2 separate regions of the Homo sapiens genome follow, and region 2 is linked to region 1. Evidence: promoter capture Hi-C in 16 types of primary human blood cells and fetal thymus (Javierre and others, 2016). All regions are on one chromosome and are shown on one strand. The core of a region is centred on a gene start or on the middle of the fragment in contact, and the rest is flanking DNA. Distances in the headings are between cores, read along the strand shown. Region 1 holds the start of RPS29 (ribosomal protein S29). Region 2 overlaps NIN (ninein).

Region 1 (4,654 bases), core at 717-3,216:
AAGCCTGAGTTTAAACGTACTTTCTCTGTCCCTGCTGCACTGCAGTATTCATATTAACAATTTACAACAGACAGGGCGCCGTGGATCACGCCTGTAATCCCAGCACTCTGAGGGGTCAAGGCAGGCCCATCTCCTGAGGTCAGGACCTCAAGACCAGCTTGGCCAACATGGTGAAATCCCATCTCCACAAAATAATAAAAATAGGCCGGGCGTGGTGGCAGACGCCTGTAATCCCAGGTACTAGGGAGGCTGAGACAGGAGAATCGCTTGAATCCGGGAGGGGGAGGCTAGTGAGCTGAGATCACGCCACTGCACTCCAGCCTGGGAAACAGAGGGAGACCCAATTTCAAAACAAAAAAAAAAATTTACATCATTATAGAACAGTACTATCCAATACAAAATAATTGATCAGAAAGCTGGTGATTTTTATCTCAAAGAGCCAATAATAAATTCGTTTTCACCTTAAAAAAAAAAACCCAAACTACTATTTAAAAGATTTTCAGAAGCCAAAAGTTTCACAGTCAAAAGTTTCATATAAACACTAGCTTGACTAAGATGATCAAGAGATAGAAGCACTAAATGGCAGACCATTGTTTGCTGAATCTTAACAATGTCTTTCCGGCCCCAAACTTTAAGTTCATTCCAGTGTATGACGCTTTCAAACATTTTGGGTTGGCCGGGCGCGGTGGCTCACGCCTGTAATCTCAGCACTTTGGGAGGCCGAAGCAGGCGGATCACGAGGTCAGCAGTTCGAGACCAGCCTGACCAACATGGTAAAACCCCGTCTCTACTAAAAATAAAAAAATTAGCCGGACATGGTGGCAGGCGCCTGTAATCCCAGCTATTCAGGAGGCTGAGGCAGGAGAATCGCTTGAACCGGGGAGGCGGAGGTTGCACTGAGCGGAGATCACGCCATCGCACTCCAGGTTGGGTGAGTGCGACTCCGACTCAAAAAAAAAAAAAAAAAAACTTGGGGTCAGCGGTTAATACATATATTTGGTTAGAAAATATCTAGGTACAGCCGCGCGTGGTGGCAAGAGCCTTTAGTCCCAGCTACTCGGGACGCCAAGGCAAGAGGATCGCCTGAGACCAGGAGGAGTTCGAGGCTGCAGTGAGCCGTAACAACGCCACTGCACTTCAACCTGGGCGACAGAGGGAGACCCTATCTCTAAAAAAAAAAAAAAGAGAATAGGTACTTACAAGATTGATAAATGAAACAAATGTAAAACAATTTTAGTGGCTTCTCTAAAGTGAATTTCACCAAACACAATACACGGCACCTAAAACTGGCTAAGCTATCTAGGTAAAAAAGGGAGTAGGAAAGACTAAGTCCTTCACCTTCTCCATTCTATTAATTTGATTGCCCAAACCATCAACACTGTCACCAGCTACCAACTAAAAAAAGAGGAAAAGCTCTTGGTCGAATGCTCAGAATTACCACTCCAGGGAAGATCTGTCCGTTTGTCTTTCGCGGAAAAAATAACCCCCACAACCTTCTCTGCCCAAACAACATGGAGTACGCCTGCAGACGCCTACCTTAATGAAACCGATATCCTTCGCGTACTGACGGAAACACTGGCGGCACATATTGAGGCCATATTTCCGGATCAGACCGTGCCGGTTTGAACAGACACGACTGTAAGAAAAGAGACAGCGGTTTTGCAGGTCATAGAAATTACAAGACTCCGCACTCAGACGGCTACTACCCGCATCCCGGGACTCCCAAGCCACAGTACAGGCCTGTAATGGCGGCACCAGCGACTCCCAGTCGGCGTGCTCCCTCGTGCCGCCCGTGGCCTCCTCTACTTGAGATTTTAAGCAGCCTAGCGCTCCACGGCAACGCTTCCCCAAAATCACAAACTATTTCTCACCAAGAGCGAGAACCCTGGCCGAATTTTCGCGGGTGGCTCCAGTACAGCTGCTGGTGACCCATCTTGCTCTCAGCAGTGCAACGAGGTAAAAGGAAGAAGCTGGCCCACGCATGCGCTCTTCAAATTTTTGAGACAGTTTACCCAGAATGCAGTGCTCAAAGGAAACGCGTGCGCAGTGTGGTCAGGTTGTTTCGCTGGGTGAGTAAAATGAAATCTTAGAGGCGTTGTGGGCTGGCCCAGTTGATGACGTCACCATACCACAGCTTCTAGTGCTATTCTGCGCCGGTATCCGACCGCCGGGCGCGGTGGCGCGTGCCTGTAGTCCCAGCTACTCGGGAGGCTGAGGCTGGAGGATCGCTTGAGTCCAGGAGTTCTGGGCTGTAGTGCGCTATGCCGATCGGGTGTCCGCACTAAGTTCGGCATCAATATGGTGACCTCCCGGGAGCGGGGGACCACCAGGTTGCCTAAGGAGGGGTGAACCGGCCCAGGTCGGAAACGGAGCAGGTCAAAACTCCCGTGCTGATCAGTAGTGGGATCGCGCCTGTGAATAGCCACTGCACTCCAGCCTGGGCAACATAGCGAGACCCCGTCTCTTTTGAACAATAAATACGTTAATTTTGGACTCTCAAGAGATGAATATTCTCATAGTCTTTTTTATTGATTAAACCTTTTACTTTCTTTTAATTAAAACGTTACACTTGGGAAAGGAGTTTTTCCTCGACTCACCAGTGACACCTACTGGAATAAATTTACAAAACAACTTAAAATCAGCTGTAATGATCACGAGTCAACGGTAGGGTTTGCTTTTATTTTGTTAAAGAGAGTACGTTTTCAAATTTATTTTTTTGACACACTCCTCCAAGAAATACACCTACACCATTCCAAAAAAAAATGAGATTCTTTGGCATTTAGTGTATTTGATTCTTAAATGTAATTGGCTGAATGTAAAGTAATAAACAAGTAATGTGCAGTGTATGTTGCTTTGACCAGATAATTTGGTGACAAAACAAGTAATGAAAAGCAAATGCAAAAATGCAAAAAACCAATGTCAATAAACGAATTTCTGCTGAAAGATACCTACATTCCATATGGTCATTTATAATGCCTCCAGATAAAACTGCTCTGAAATCAAAGCTTTAACTAGATTTATAAAATGTAGCACAGGGTGCAACAATTCCAGAAACTTTTACATATAAACTTTTATAAATTGAAATACAACACTTCTTTAAGGTATGTTATGTCAGGGTTCTAGTGGGGTCCCCCTACCCAATCATTAAGTTAGGCATTGTATTATATGATTAAGGAAGGAGGGGAGTCAGAGATTTGTAAACTAGATATAACTTGCTCCTTGCCCTCAAAATTTTCTAATCTGTGGGAAACAGGATTATCTCCAAGACTTCAACATACAACGTTTGTGCACCAACAACATATGTACAGCTAAGGAAAATATTCTGTATTAAATCATGGGTGTGCTCATGAAGTACGAAAGGAGCCAAGAAGAGAAATTAATTCCAGTTCGAGGTACATTTGAGAGACCTTTGAGGTAGACCTTGAAGAATGGGATTTCTACAGGCAGCACTTGACAGAAGGGAATGCCTGGTGAAAGGAAGCGCTTGAGCCAAGGTAAGGTGAACAACTTTGTGTAACTAGAATAGAAGATGGACAAAAGGCCTAGTGATAGGAATGAAAAGGTATTTTATTTTAAAGCCTCATTGGGCAAGATCCAATGTCAAGCTTTTACAACTTTCCTATAATTTATATCAGTCACTAATGTGTGGTTTCCAAAAGCCATTTGCCTCTCAAAAGCTAATCTAACATTTGTCCACACTTTCTTAGGCCTCTTCTAGTTGGTCTCCACAATATTTAAAACATTACAGTGGTTCTGAGATCAATTCCATTAATATTTTTAGTACTCTGATATATAAGCCTTTGGGCCTAAAGAAGTGAATTCATTTAGGAGAGAAAAAAAGACAAATGAGAAGCAATTAGTTGCACTTCAACAATCTTAATCTGAATACTTAAGTAATTCTTAATACTTATTCTAGTCTATACATTATTCTCTTTGATAGAGATATTGCAAAAGTGCAGCTAAGACGTCGTACTTCCTTTCAGTTTTAAGATAATGTGACACCATCTATCCCAAACCATGAAATTATCCATTTCTTTTTCAACAAACTGAGAACACAGCTTTAAAAGTTCATTTTAACTCGGTGTTTATCAAGAGCTTTTATGTTTTGTTTTGTTTTTTTTCCTTTTTTTTTGAGACGGAGTCTCACTCTGTCGCCCAGGCTGGAGTGCAATGGCACCATCTTGGCTAACTGCAACCTGCACCTCCTGGGTTCAAGGGATTCTCCTGCCTCAGCCTCCCGAGTTGCTGAAATTACAGGCACGTGCCACCACACCCGTCTAATTTTTTACATTTTTGGTAGAGATGGGGTTTCACCATGTTGGCTAGGCTGGTCTCGAAGTCCTGACCTCGAGTAATCCACCCACCTCAGCCTCCCAAACTGCTGGGATTACAGGAGTGAGCCACCACGCCCGGCCTAAGAGCTTTTATCTTAATCCTGTAGTCTTCTTACAGTTTCTGAGTCCTTTTTTTTTTTTTTTTTTTTTTTTTTGAGACGGAGTCTGGAGTCTCGCTCTGTGACCCAGGCTGGAGTGTAGTGGTGCGATCTCGGCCCACTGCAAGCTCCGCCTCCCGGGTTCACGCCATTCTCCTGCCTCAGCCTCCCGAGTAGCTGGGACTACAGCGCCCGCCACCATGCCCGGCTAATTTCTTTTTG
Region 2 (4,654 bases), core at 684-3,183, 1.2 Mb after region 1:
ATCCTTACATATGAATATTCTGACATACAGAAACCAACAGTCCAACTGAAATTAAAAAAAAAAAATCAATGGTTGCAAGCTATAAGTTCCCAGTTATCTATACATTAAATTTCATTTGAAGACTTAAGGATCAAACTACTTATTTAAAAATCAAAACTTCTTATTTATTCTCTATTAAAAGCCCTCACTTCTAAATTTTGCTTTACACATTAGAGATTCTGTAAAGTCATTACTTAAACATGAGATAATTACTGGCACAATTTTGTGTGCTTGGAAGAACCTCAGAGGGTTGAAAGCAGTATTTAGTGCTACTCCCACTCTTTAGTGACAGGAATTAAGCCCATTACTGCTGTGGCGTTTCAACCTAGAGAACAGGTTGTAATTACACTTAAGTACAGTTAATCCACAGAGGGCTGTGAAGTGGGCTGAGGTTCTGTTAGCTGAACCACAGTGCCATCTGGTGGCCAGAGGATCAACGTGTTCTGATGCTTCTTAAATACATTTGAAACTTGTCAAGGGATGCATTTTTAAATTAATTAATTAATTTATATTGTTATTTTTATTTTTTGAGACAGAGTCTCTTCTGTTATCCAAGCAGGAGTGCAGTGGCACAATCACGGCTCACTACAGCCTCCAACTCTCGGGCTTAATGGATTCTCCCACCTCAGCCTTCTGAGTAGCTGGGACGACAGGCATGTGCTACCACACCTGGCTATTTTTAGTAGAGACGGGGTATGCCATGTTGCCCAGGCTGGTCATGAACTACTGCGTTCCAGTAATCCTCCTGCCTTGGCCTCCCAAAGTGCTGGGATTACAGGCGTGAGCCACTGTACCTGGCCAAGGGATGCACTTTAATAGGTCACTATTTAAGACTGTTAGAAAATTAATCTGAAAGTCTGTATAAGAGAGAAATTAGCCCGTAAGTAAAATTATATATCTTAGTTACCATCTCTTGCATGATACTAAATGCTAGGATTTTAAAACTAAAAGCTATCAATTGGGAATAAATTTTTTGTTGCTGTTGTTCTTAATGTTAATTCCCCTGGCCTGCAGCATAAGAGATCAGAAAGACCGGGTGTGGAGAGCACCCGGCGGCCCTTCCCTTCCAGGCACGTCCTGACACACTCGGCTCTTACCTTCCGCTTCATACTCCTCACTGCGTTGCGTCTTCCAGTGCTAGAGAAGGCAAGAGAAGATTAGTGTGCTTTAGAACTTATTCAGAAAGAACTATCCTAGCTTTTCCTAGAGCAGATCACTCTCTGGCTCTGAAATCATCATCTAAGTGAGTCACATAATTTCAGGACTCTCTAGTGTATCCATCTAGATGAGTTCTCTTCAGTTAACCAGCCAATCAGGACGAGACTCCTAAGAAACACCACACAGCCTTCTGCAGCATTTCACCAAGGATTTGTCCTCATTTGCTAGGTCACTTATTCAACAGCAAAACCTATCACAACCAATTAAACCCAGCCAAAGCAAATATCCAGTATCCATCAACCAACAAGTATCTGTACACATGCATTTATGAATTTATTCTTCAATAAATGTGTACTGAGTGCTTCTCTTTGTGCTAGGTACTGTGCTAGGTCTTGGTAATACAACCATGAACAACCATGAACAGGACAAACATATTTCCTGCCCCAAGAAGTTTATATGCTAATGAAGACATGCAGACAAGAAAACAGGAAATACAACAGGGTAGTATTTTAAGTGCTATGACAAGGAAGTTCAGGATGCTATGTTGCTATGCAGATGGGATACTTTAGACTTGTTAGATCGGGAAGAAGCAATGTCTAAACTGAGACCTGAAGGATAAACTGCAGAGAGCCAAATGAAAAGAAGGGGGCAGGCTGGGCACAGTGGCTTGCGCCTGTAATCCCAGCACTTTGGGAGGCCGAGGTGGGCGGATCACGAGGTCAGGAGATCGAGACCATCCTGGCCAACACAATGAAACCCCATCTCTACCAAAAATACAAAAAATTAGCCAGGCGAGGTGGCGGGTGCCTGTAGTCCCAGCTACTCGGGAGGCTGAGGCAGGAGAATGGCGTGAACCCGGGAGGCGGAGCTTGCAGTAAGCCGAGATCGCGCCACTGCACTCCAGCCTGGGCAACAGAGCGAGACTCCGTCTCAAAAAAAAAAAAAGAAAAGAAAAGAAGGGGGGCAGTTGTTATCTGCTGAAGCAAGGAGGCAAGAATGAGCCTAGTGTATCTGTGGCATAGTGAGGAGAGAGATGCAACTTAAAATAAGTAGGCTAGAGAAAGTATAAAATGTACATTACCAGTAAATTACATTAAAGGCAGTTCAATTTATCTGAATTGGACCATTTTGCCACCTTATCAGGCTTCATTACTCCTGCCTCTTCTCCAAAGTCACAGCATACAGTTGTAATTTGTGTACTGCATAAAAGTGCCCCGCTAAGAGCACAGGTCAGGACCGAAATCCAGCCCTTGCTCCACTGCCCGGGGATAGTACAGGTCGTCTTTTGACCAGTTGCAACAAGTAGGTCCACAGTGGCTGTGGCTTCCAGCAAATGGCTTTAGCCTCTCCAGCAAACTGCCTAAAACTAATCACTGTTATGGGGGGTTACTACAACCATCAAAGAAAACCCTGTTAGAAAAGGTGAATCGCCCTTTCCAAACGGGGCTGCTGTCATAGCAGTGATCCAGCTTTATGAATGAAGCTGCCTTTGATAACAAATAACCAGCACGTTTTCTGGGTAGCTGACCTGTACAAGACTAGTTGATTGCTTAGAATCCGAAAATAAACTCGACAGGAAAGTCAGCCTAATTAATACCTGTCTCTAGAACTTGGATTCCTCATGACAGATGGTATGGCACGTAAAATTTTTAGATGAAATGTTGTTTTTCAGTAGTTCATTCAAGTTAATACGAGTTGAAGTTCTTCTTTCAGGCAACCTACGCTCATCTACTTTATTCTCCACACTCACTAGTGGTAGTTCTCACCTCTTAAATGAGGGCCAACCACCTACCACAGTTTCACAGGTCCATGTTAGATATTTAAGATAGTATCAATTCAGAGAGTTCATTTAATTTGGCCATACCAAGCTGACAATGCTGAGATGGGTTGTTGCTGACAAATGGAAGACACCAAAAGGCCATAACTCAAAATGTTTAAGTTCACTACAATTCATGCAGATTACAATGGAAAGTCACTAATAAACATGGCATCAATGAAAAGTGAATTAGGACGTGTGATTTTTGCTTGTGATAACAATTTCATCAGCTCACTCAGCCTACATTTCTACATAAAGACGTCTCTCCAATCTAGTGGATGTCTGAGGCATGGTGGGGATGGGGAGCAAGTGGTAAAGTCAACAGTCCTTCATAAATTTTCTTACATTCTCATTTCTGGTCAGAATTGTTTTCACATAAGAAATTTTAAATCAACAAAACCATCCTGCCTGTCTGTCCCTCCACATTTATTTTCCTGTTCAACAGAGCAGACAATTTAAATGCTCATACTACTTCGGCATCCAAAATTATGAAAATTCATTATTTAGCATACCAGTTGGAAACACCCCAGAACTAAATCCACTAATTCCACCTATGACAAATAAAATAGGGTTTTATGGTCTCAGAACCATTGGTAGAAACCTACCAAATCTCAAGCAGGGGATGATTTCTAACAGCAGAAATGAATGGGAGAAATGGCAGGAGAATATGTTATCACTGGCCCCAAACCATAAAGAGAGTCCCAGTTGGAATATACAGCTGTAAAAATGCAACACACACACCTTCAAAAAATCCTCGTCATTACTAAAGCACTGGCTCATTTACTTCTCAGTTCATTTGAAAATAGTGAGCACAGAATTCAAAGAAGCAAGATGCTCCAATATACTGTTTCCAACATCTTATGAGTCTATGAGACTGGGTGCCTATGTCTGATTCACTCTCTGGGACAGTACTTCCCTGCTGCCTTCTTCCCTGGATTCTTACTCCTAACTAATAAAGGATCGAGTATGGAGGCCACTGCATAGACTTAGGAGGCAGAGTGCCTGGTGCTGAATCATGGCTTCCCTACCAGGTTGGCCTTAGGCAAGCTTCTGACGACTTCTGCCTCAGGTTCTCTGCCTATAAAATGGGAACAAGGTAGTGCATATTTCATGGAGTTATGGTAAAGTGCTTAGAATTGTGCCTGGCACATAGTAAGCTCTACACAATTTTGTTATTTTTATTGGACATATGTTTACATGATACATGTGGAATTTATTTTAATTTCCATATTTAAACTTAAAGCATTCAATTGGGTAGACCTGGGGAGGTATCTGTTATGGATATACATTTGTAAGAAAAATGCCAAGTCTTCCCAGCAGAGAAGGAAGAAACACAGACAATTCACATAAGAAGCAACATAATTAAAAAAAAAAAACCAAAAACAAAAAAACATGGGGGAAGGTTCATCTCAACAGCAATCAAAGAAGGATTAAAACCAAGAAGTCATTTTGTTCCTATTAAATTAGCAAAGTATTTAAGATATAACTTCTACTACCATCAAGGTTATGATTTAAAATAGGCCCGTTTATATGTTATGGGTAGCACTGTAAATGATTATTACTTTTAGTAATGTAAATGGCTTTATGTATCAAAAGCAATAAAAATGTTCATACTTTTTGATCCAATAATTTCACTTGGTA

Evidence for each region. The method cuts DNA at HindIII sites, captures the fragments that hold promoters and counts their contacts. A CHiCAGO score of 5 or more calls a contact.
Region 2: a fragment that was not itself captured here is called in contact with the fragment with the promoter of RPS29 in region 1 in 1 of 17 cell types (fetal thymus); the score reaches 5.6 in fetal thymus.

What each region holds. Positions count from the first base shown.
Region 1 is chr14:49,584,414-49,589,067 of GRCh38, forward strand. It overlaps RPS29 (ribosomal protein S29), which reads right to left and starts at 1,967. Exons shown (of 3, transcript NM_001032.5): 1 at 1,872-1,967; 2 at 1,537-1,636. The coding sequence starts at 1,933. It also overlaps RN7SL1. RefSeq lists enhancers at 998-1,047, 1,646-2,145, 2,018-2,527. The HindIII fragment of the contact is 6,928 bases long and covers 1-3,003 here.
Region 2 is chr14:50,777,629-50,782,282 of GRCh38, forward strand. It overlaps NIN (ninein), which reads right to left. Exons shown (of 31, transcript NM_020921.4): 6 at 1,137-1,176. Among named protein-coding and RNA genes, the nearest start is that of NIN, 51 kb to the right of the region's middle. The HindIII fragment of the contact is 4,250 bases long and covers 1-4,058 here.